Linked DNA regions of Homo sapiens: region 2 is linked to region 1. The links are contacts of gene promoters, found by promoter capture Hi-C in blood cells and fetal thymus (Javierre and others, 2016). All regions are on one chromosome and are shown on one strand. Each heading gives the region's core, a stretch centred on a gene start or on the middle of the fragment in contact. The rest is flanking DNA. Distances are from core to core; before and after follow the strand shown.

Evidence for each region. The method cuts DNA at HindIII sites, captures the fragments that hold promoters and counts their contacts. A CHiCAGO score of 5 or more calls a contact.
Region 2: a fragment that was not itself captured here is called in contact with the fragment with the promoter of XKRX in region 1 in 7 of 17 cell types (total CD4 T cells, endothelial precursors, total B cells and 4 more); the score reaches 6.0 in total CD4 T cells.

The regions. Positions count from the first base shown.
Region 1 is chrX:100,927,425-100,931,836 of GRCh38, reverse strand. XKRX (XK related X-linked) reads left to right here and starts at 2,920. Exons shown (of 3, transcript NM_212559.3): 1 at 2,920-3,867. The coding sequence starts at 3,533. RefSeq lists enhancers at 2,274-2,323, 3,517-4,412. The HindIII fragment of the contact is 22,335 bases long and covers 1-4,412 here.
Region 2 is chrX:101,194,349-101,199,310 of GRCh38, reverse strand. No RefSeq gene overlaps it. Among named protein-coding and RNA genes, the nearest start is that of DRP2, 23 kb to the left of the region's middle. The HindIII fragment of the contact is 2,811 bases long and covers 153-2,963 here.

The sequences.
Region 1 (4,412 bases), core at 1,671-4,170:
AGTTTATGCCCCAGCTACAGTGGCCACAGCTTTTAGAGATGAGTGTGTCTGAGTCTTGCATGGTTTCAAGGAGGAAGTATGGGGGAGGAAGCGTCATCATCATCACCATTTGTCAATCACCATTGTCATCAACAAGTGCCACAATAAACAGTCATTGAGCATCCTTCCCTCACTAACTTTACATTTTTGGGGGGAGGCAGGACAAACACAGAAATAGTTGAAGGACTAGTATGAGAGAGCATGTGCCAGTAGCATGAAGAGAGAAAAATGAGGGTTGGGGAGGTGACAGAAGGCTTCTTGGAGGTGGGAGCACTTCGGCTGACCCTTGAAAGAAAGTTATGGTTTGGACTAATGGAGAAAAGGGTGAAGGGGGTTGTAAATCGCATCAACAAGGCAGAGGTGGGAGTGAGCAACGCAAATAGGAGAAGTGAGAAAACTGGCTGGCCTTGTGGAAGGAGTAGTGTGGGCAATAAAATCTGAGAGGGAAGTAGTGTGATGATTATATAGAGCCTTGAATGACAGACAGAAGGAGTCATTTTGGAACAAAGTAGGAAGGCATTGTAAATTTTTGTATTTGGGGAGAGACAAGGCCATGGAGAAGAAGGAGGAAAGGCTAAAAGGTAAACGTTGGGATTCTACATTCTTCTTCTTAGCTTTACTCTCCCATGTTTTTTTTTTTTTTTATTTTTAATTTTTATTTTTTTGAGATGGAGTTTCACTCTTGTCACCCAGGCTGGAGTGCAATGGTGCTATCTTGGCTCACTGCAACTTCTGCCTCCTGGGTTCAAGGGGTTGTCCTGCCTCAGCCTCCCGAGTAGCTGGGATTACAGGTGCCCACCACCACGCCCAGCTAATTTTTGAATTTTTAGTAGAGACAGGATTTCACCATGTTGGTCAGGCTGGTCTCAAACTCCTGATCTCAGGCCATTCACCCACCTTGGCCTCCCGAAATGCTGGGATTACAGGCATGAGCTACCGCGCCCGGCTGACTCTCTCATGTTTAGGGGGACCAACTCACCCTATCCCAGTGAAATGGGATTAATTGGTCACCTTGCCTGAGATTCACCTTGTGAACAGTTACCTAGAGCAGCCCCAAGAGGTTCTGCACCATATACTGGTGGTGGAGAACCTTGTCCCAGTTGGAATGTCCCAACTAATAAGAAAAAGAACACTCTCTGAAGTTGTTCTCAATAGTGTTGACCTCCTTCATGAAATGGAAAGGAGAAAGGAGCAGCCTCCTAGCCCAGCTGCTAGCATAGGTGCAGACCAAGATGCGGAGTCTGCTTCAGAAGGTGACAACCTTTAGATGTTGAATCTGTCCCTGAATCAGCCCTGGGGAAAGGAGGCAGCAATCATGGAAACCTTAAAAAAACAAAAAACAACATAATGACAGGACAACCTGGAGGCCATTATTTTGGTGGCTGCTACTTGGCCACTCCTCACATAGATTTGTTTTACTGACTTCCTGCAGCAAAAGGAGATTGGCACAGGCTCTGCTACATAATCATCATTATTATTATTATTATTATTATTATTATTATTATTATTAAGACGTAATCTTGCTCTGTTGCCCAGGCTGGAGTGCAGTGGCGTGATCTCAGCTCACTGCAACCTCTGCCGTCCGGGTTCAAGTTTTTCTCCTGCCTCAGCCTCCTGAGTAGCTGGGATTACAGTCACGCACCACCACGACCAGCTGATTTTTGTATTTTTAGTAGAGATGGGGTTTCACCACGTTGGCCAGGCTGGTTTCGAACTCCTGACCTCAAGTGATCTGCCTGCCTCAGCCTCCCAAAGTGCTGGGATTACAGGCGTGAACCACTGTGCCTGGCCTTCATCTATATTATTACCAGGAGGCAGATGTGTTCTCTTTTTCTCTGAGGTTTAGAATTATGCAAATGAAGATATGAAAACAAAAGCTCAGTGAGGTGGGGAGGATTACACTTAAGAATACAGGTAATTTTCAAAGCTCTTTAAGACACCCCTCTCAGTTTTTACTAACAGCTCTCTCTTGGCTCTTTGCCAGTCTGTTTAGAATTTGGCACCTCTTCATAACCTTTCAACCAAAGACCTGTAAGTTCATTCTAAAGCTCCTATCCTGGCCTCATTTTGCAAGTGGAGAAATCAAGGCATAAAATATGAGCTTTCAGTGTCTGTGGGCTGACCTTGAGTCTTGACCTTTATCCTGTTCTATCTTCCCTCCGCCGAAAACTCTGACCCTATTCCTCCCAGGTTCCCCCTTCATGATATTATCTGGAGGGCAATAGGACCTAGGGAGGTTCCACCCTGCGGCGGAGGGAGACACACCTGCCTAACAGCGTGGGTAGAGTGAGTGTTGAAGCAAGTCACTTAACTAGTTAGGGAGGGCGGGGTAGAAGTGGGGGCCTGCTGCTCCTAGGGAGGAGTAAAGCTGTGGCTCCTGCCTGGGTCTGGAGGTGGTGGTCAGAAGTGCTTCTGAAGAGCGGCCCAAGCCCCTTTTTGTCCCGCCACTCCACAACGAGCATCCCTCGGCTGGCCGCCTGCCCGGGAACTCTCCGGCTGGTTTTGTTTGGCCGCAGCCGTCCCGCCCATCTCGCCCGCCCCCGCCGTCCCGGTGCCTTAGTTTTTGAAGCTGCCGACCTCTCGCAGCTGGAATCGCAGACCAGGCAGGACCCTGGCAGCAGACGGCGTCCAAGAGTTTGGCGACCTCCGTCCAGCCAGGTTGGCGCCCCGCACATCGTGCCTCTCACTAGCAAAGTTTCTCCGAGGAGAAGCAGCCCCTCCAGCCTTTTCTTCATCCTGTAGAGCGAGCGCGCTCTGCTTCTGTCCCTCAACACTGCATTCGGAGACAGGGTGGTGACAATACTCCACTCCCGGGCCAGGCGGTCTTGGGGGCGGGGCTTGGGGGAATCCGAGGAGCTATCCTGAGAACCCTGGACTCGGCAAAGGTCCTGAGAGCGCGCAGGTGAGCGGGCCAGCTGATAGCTACAGCCTAGCAATAGCTAGGATACCTAGGCACTGAACTGAATCCCCTCTTCTGCCCTCCTTCTTCTGCGCCCGCTCTTCTGCCCTGGCTCAGCTCTCCGCTGACTTGAGAGGACACACTGGTCAGGACTCTTTGTGAGGAGCTGCTGAGTGTCGGTGCCCCCGACAGATCGGCTACACCCTGCCTGAGGGGCTGCGAAAGGAGCCGCCACGGAAGCCGCTGTTCTCATGACTCTTCACGTCCCTGGAGTTGGACTCTGGATGGGGCGCTGGGATGCTTGCTTTTGTCTTGTTCAAGTTTCACAGCAAGTATGTTGACGATTGGAATCGGGGCCAATCAAGAGTCAAGTTCAAAGTGGTACTCCTGGGCTTTCCATCCCAGACTCCAAGTCGAATCTGAGTCTAGAAGAGAGCGGTTTCTTGCTCTAACTAGTGAATCTCTGTTCCCAAACTGGACTTGACAGAGCTCTCCTCACCTATACTTGGACTGTAGCGGCCATAGGGTTCTCTTGGGGATGGGTGGGAGGGTGCTATGAACACAAGACCACAACATTCAGAAAGAACCTCGACAATGGACAGAGTTTATGAAATTCCTGAGGAGCCAAATGTGGATCCGGTTTCATCTCTGGAGGAAGATGTCATCCGTGGAGCCAACCCCCGATTTACTTTTCCATTTAGCATCCTTTTCTCCACCTTTTTGTACTGTGGGGAGGCTGCATCTGCTTTGTACATGGTTAGAATCTATCGAAAGAATAGTGAAACTTACTGGATGACATACACCTTTTCTTTCTTTATGTTTTCATCCATTATGGTCCAGTTGACCCTCATTTTTGTCCACAGAGATCTAGCCAAAGATAAACCGCTATCATTATTTATGCATCTAATCCTCTTGGGACCTGTTATCAGGTGAGCAACTTTTAAATCTTTTCCTTACCCCCCTAACCCCACCCCAGACTTGGGCAGAGAAAGATGAAAGATTTACAAGATGGATACTATGGCTCTAATCAATTCTCTCATTTCCTCCCACTCTCGGCTTCCCTGTCTACCATTCAGAAAACTTACCTGAAATCTTAAATGCCACCATGATGAACATGTGGTATGTACTTGTGTTCCAAAACAATGAACGATGCTATTTGGCCTGTGTAAACTAGAATGGGAACAACAAGACGTGATCACCCTGTGCATGAAGGCCATAGCTGCAGAGTGTGTAATTTTATTTAAAAAATTTTTTTTTTCTGAGACAAGGTCTTGCTCTGCCTCCCAGGCTACAGTGCAGTGGTGCGATCATGGCTCACTGCAGCCTTGATCTCCTGGGATCAAGCGAACCTCCCACCTCAGCCTCCAAGTAGCTGGGACCAAAGGAATGTGTCACCATGCCTGGTTAATTAAAAAAAAATTTTTATAGGCCGGGTGTGGTGGCTCATGCCTGTAATCCCAGCACTTTGGGAGGC
Region 2 (4,962 bases), core at 309-2,808, 270 kb before region 1:
AAATAATCTGAGTAAAAAATGCCATTCCTCACTCTGTGATTGTGTGTATATTTATACAGTTTTTAATTTCCCTGGGAGTACTCATACCCAGTTTGAAAAGCATGCCTTTAAATAGCCAATCTAGTCACAATGGCTAATTGACAGGAAAAGCTTTCAAGTGCTCAAAGGGATCATTGATCCTTTTATTTCGCGATGAGCAAAGAGATCCTTAGAGCTAATTAAATTATGATCCTAATATTCTTCCCTTTCATTATTAGCAGTATTTGGCCCTGATTTTTTTCCTGGAGCATGTGTACTCAATTAGGGGTGAGGGAAACACATGTTTTATAAAACAAAAGTGGTCATTATTCTCTGCTCCAATAAGAGTGTGTTTTATCTTTTATCATTAAAAGAGGAATCAGTATTTTTACCAGGAGTTTTCAAATACATTTTTCTTTGAAGAAAGTTCTGGTGTGTTTCAATTGTTTTAAACTAAGATTAAGCTCAGGGCAATAATTCAAAACGTTTAAATTATACATAGTGATTAGTTTTAATTTTTAGTGTGGGAAAGTGGTAATTGAAGACAACATTAATTTGGTAATGTTAAAGCATTAAGTGGAGAACAACCTTTCAATTTTCCTCACCCTAGTGTGATTTATTATATTATAGCCCATACTTGCAGTATCTATATTATCTGCTTCAAGGTATTAGATCTTATGATACTAATAATCTTAAAAAGGAGATATTTTTCTTAAGAGAGTACCAGGCACCAGGTGTGGTGGCTCACGTCTATAATCCCAGCACTTTGGGAGGCCAAGGGGGGCAGATCACCTGAGGTTGGGAGTTCGAGACCAGCCTGGCTAACATAGGGAAGCCCCGTCTCTAATAAAAATACAAAAATTAGCTGGGTGTGATGGCACGTGCCTGTAATCCCAGCTACTTGGGAGGCAGAGGCAGGAGAATCACTTGAACCCGGGAGGTGGAGGTTGCAGTGACCCGAGATTGTACCACTGCACTCCAGCCTGGGAGACAGAGTGAGACTCCATCTCAAAAAAAAAAAAAAAGAGACCGGATGCGGTGGCTCACGCCTGTAATCCCAGCACTTTGGGAGGCCAAGGCGGGCGGATCAGGAGGTCAGGAGTTCGAGACCAGCCTGGCCAACATGGTGAAACCCCATCTCTACTAAAAATACAAAAATTAGCCAGGCGTGGTGGCGGGCACCTGTAATCCCAGCTACTCAGGAGGCTGAGGCAGGAGAGTCACTTGAACCCGGGAGGTGGAGGTTGCAGTGAGCCGAGATCGTGCCACTGCACTCCAGCCTGGGTGACAGAGCGAGACTCCATCTCAAAAAAAAAAAAAAAAAAGAAAGAGTACAAGGAGCAGCTTGCAATACCATATGATTTTATTCTCAAAATGGTGTAATGAAAAAAACCCATAGACTCTGGTGTTAGTAGATCTGAAAGGCAGACCTGACTCCATTATGAATGACTTTGTGTGAATTATTCAATCTTTCAGAGCTTATAGTTTCTTCAACTGTAAAATGAGACTATTATAATAATGCCTGCCACACTGAAGAATCTGGATGAAAGGCATCCACACAATATCTTAGAATGTGAACTGGATATAATGCATGACAATATTTTTTTTTAGACAGGGTCTCACTCTGTCACCCAGGCTGGAGTGCAGTGGCATGGTCATGGCTCACTGTAGCCTCAACTTCCCAGGCTCAAGCAATCCTCCCTCGTCAGCCTTCTGAGTAGCTGGGACTATAGGTGTGTGCCACCATACCCTGGTAATTTTTTAATTTTTTGTACAGATGGGGTTTCGCTACGTTGCCTAGGCTAGTTTTGAACTCCTGGGCTCAAGTGATCCTCTCACCTCAGCCCCACAAAGTGTTGGGATTACAGGCAAGAGCCAGTGCACCCAGCTTGATACTATTTTTAAAATTCCAGTACAATTAGGCTGACAAAGGTTTAGGTTTGGGGTTTAAAAATCTAAAAATACTAAATAGTAAAAAATGCAGTATAAAGATTTTAATAATGGTCGTGGTAATCTAAGACTGACAGAACCAGTATTTTAATGGAAAAAAAGGTTACTTTTCAATTCCTAGAAATAAGTATTTCATTACTGAGAGAATAAGTGTATATCTGTTTGGGAAGAAGGGAGTGCACAGAAGGAAGAGATTATAGGTAAGCCTCTATATTCTATTTTTAATTTCTTTATTATTTATTTATTTATTTTTTGAGACGGAGTCTCGCTCTGTCACCCAGGCTGGAGTACAGTGGCGCGATCTCGGCTCACTGCAACCTCTACCTCCCAGGTTCAAGCGATTCTCCTGCCTCAGCCTCCCGAGTAGCTGGGATTACAGGCACACACCACCACGCCTGGCTAATTTTTGTATTTTTAGTAGAGACGGGGTTTCACCATGTTGGCCAGGCTGGTCTGGAACTCCTGACCTCAGGTGATCCGCCCACCTTGGCCTCCCAACATGCTGGAATTACAGGCGTGAGCCACTGTGCCTAGCCTAAGCCTCTATATTCTAATCCACTTGTTGTAGGGCCCTGATATGGGCACCCAAATGTAGCTTTAAAATATAAGGAGAATGACAGACAATAGTATATATGAAATATTCTTATCAAAAGATAAGATCTACTCTAATTAAACCTGTAGGGAAAAAAGGGACAAAGGAGCATGTTAAACAATATCATGAGAATAGAATGAGCAAACTCTAGAATGTGGGAAACTTAGGAAGACACCCAGTTTCTTCAACAAAAAAATTGCAAAAATAAAAAGGAACAAGGAGAACCTATAGATTAAATGAGGCATTAAAGACATATCAACCAAATGTAACCTGGGGACCATTTAAAATACCTGAATCAAACAAATGGTTATAAAAATACTTTGAGACAATCAGGGAAACATAAAATAGACATATATTAAGGCAGTATTGTTAATGTTTTTAGATATAATTATATTAACAAGCTTTTTAAAAGAATTATTGAGACAATATTAGCGAAAATGGAAGAGTAACGGCCCCCCAAATTCAGTCCTCCGTAAAATTTTTTTGAAGCCAAAACTAGTCAGAATCAACATTTTCAGAACTCTGGAAATTAACCAAAGGCTTGCAGCAACCTGGGGAATGTATTTTAAAGAAAAACACCTGAATCTCTGTAAGAAAAGTGAGCTTCACGTCATTTTAATTTGTCCTAGTTCCATCTCCCACTCTCTAGCTCTGCAGTAGCCTTAAAAAATTACAGTCCACATTTATGAAGAAAACCAGCAGCCTGACACGTGAGGGAGCAGAAAGAGGTGGGAGCTTATTCAAAGCCTCATTCCTAAACAACTGTCATTGTTATATATGTCTGGTGGTTCCCTGGAAAATACCACTTGCTCAGAGATAACACAGTGCAAAAAGCCTTCTCCAGGGGGAGTATTTGCCAAAAACAAATACAGGCAAGTGATTTAGCTTTGCAGCTGCCTAAGGCTGTGAATAACAGTTAAGGTACACAATAGACTAATAAAAAATCTTAAACAGAAAAATTGGGGAAGAATATATCTATAAGCACTTTGAAAACCTCCTACATTTTTCAGAAGATCTAGAAGGGCATAAGCATGCATAGGACTGTAAACATGCTCTGGAAAGACTCAAGAAGGCCCCACACTGTCATGTTTGGCTGACCTTGAGCCTTTGCACAATCAGGAAGTGAACACTAAGGCAGAGTTGTTAATGGCCTGGGTGATTGTTGAAAGTACACCCCAACATGCACACGGAGTTCTTTGACAAAGACTAGGAGATTTGCTGGTTCTGGGCATTTAAGAAGCTCTGTCCAATCATGAACTAATCTCTAAAATAGCTGAGTAGAGAATTCAGTGGTCACATATGACAAAGAATACAGACTAGTTCAGAGAAGTCACTAAAACAACCACCCACCCACATTAGTAAAAACAAGTCAAAACAACAATAAACCTTGGTAAAGAGAGAGCATCTGATTTCCAAAGTTGCCACATCAGATTATTCAAAAGTCTAGTTTTCAACAAAAAATGATGAGTGATACAAATAAATAAGAAAGTATGGCTGGGCACCGTGGCTCATGCCTGTAATCTCAGCACTTTGGGAGGCAAAGGCGGGCAGATCACTTGAGGCCAGGAGTTTGAGATCAGCCAGCTCAACATGGTGAAACCCCATCTCTACTAAAAATATAAAAGTTAGTCAGGTGTGGTGGTGCATGCCTGTGGTCCCAGCTACTTGGGAGGATGAGGTGGAAGGATCGTTTAAACCCAGGAGATTGATGCTGTTGTGAGCCGAGATTGCACCACTGCACTCCAGCCTGGATGACAGAGTAAGACTCTGTCTCAAAAATTAATAATAAAATAAAATACAGTACAAACGTATTTTTTGTTTATAACACTTTTTCTCTCCTTATTTAAAAGGCAACTGCATAAAACGAGATTTATAAATCTGTGTTAAAAGGCACCCAATGTATATACATATAATTTGTGGTAACAACAGCACAAAGGAGGGTTAGGATGGAGCTACTAAAGAACAAAATCTTCATATACTATTGAAATCAAGTTACTGTTCGTCCAAATTAGATTGTTATAAGTTAAAAATGCTAATTGTAATACTCAGGGCAATCACTAAAAATAATTTTTAAAAACACAGTAAGTGAAATAACAAGGGAATTAGGATGTACACTAGAAAATATCTATGTTCTATATGAGTTTTGTTTTTGTTTTGCTTTTGTTTGTTTGTTTGTTTGTTTTGAGACGGAGTCTCGCTCTGTCACCCAGGCTGGAGTGCAGTGGCACGATCTTGGCTCACTGCAACCTCAGCCTCCCAGGTCCTGGTTCAAGCAATTCTCGTGCCTCAGCCTCCAGAGCAGGTGGGATTACAGGCACCCACCACCGTGCCCAGCTAATTTTTGTATTTTTAGTAGAGACGGAGTCTCACCATGTTGGCCAGGCTGGTTTTGAACTCCTGAC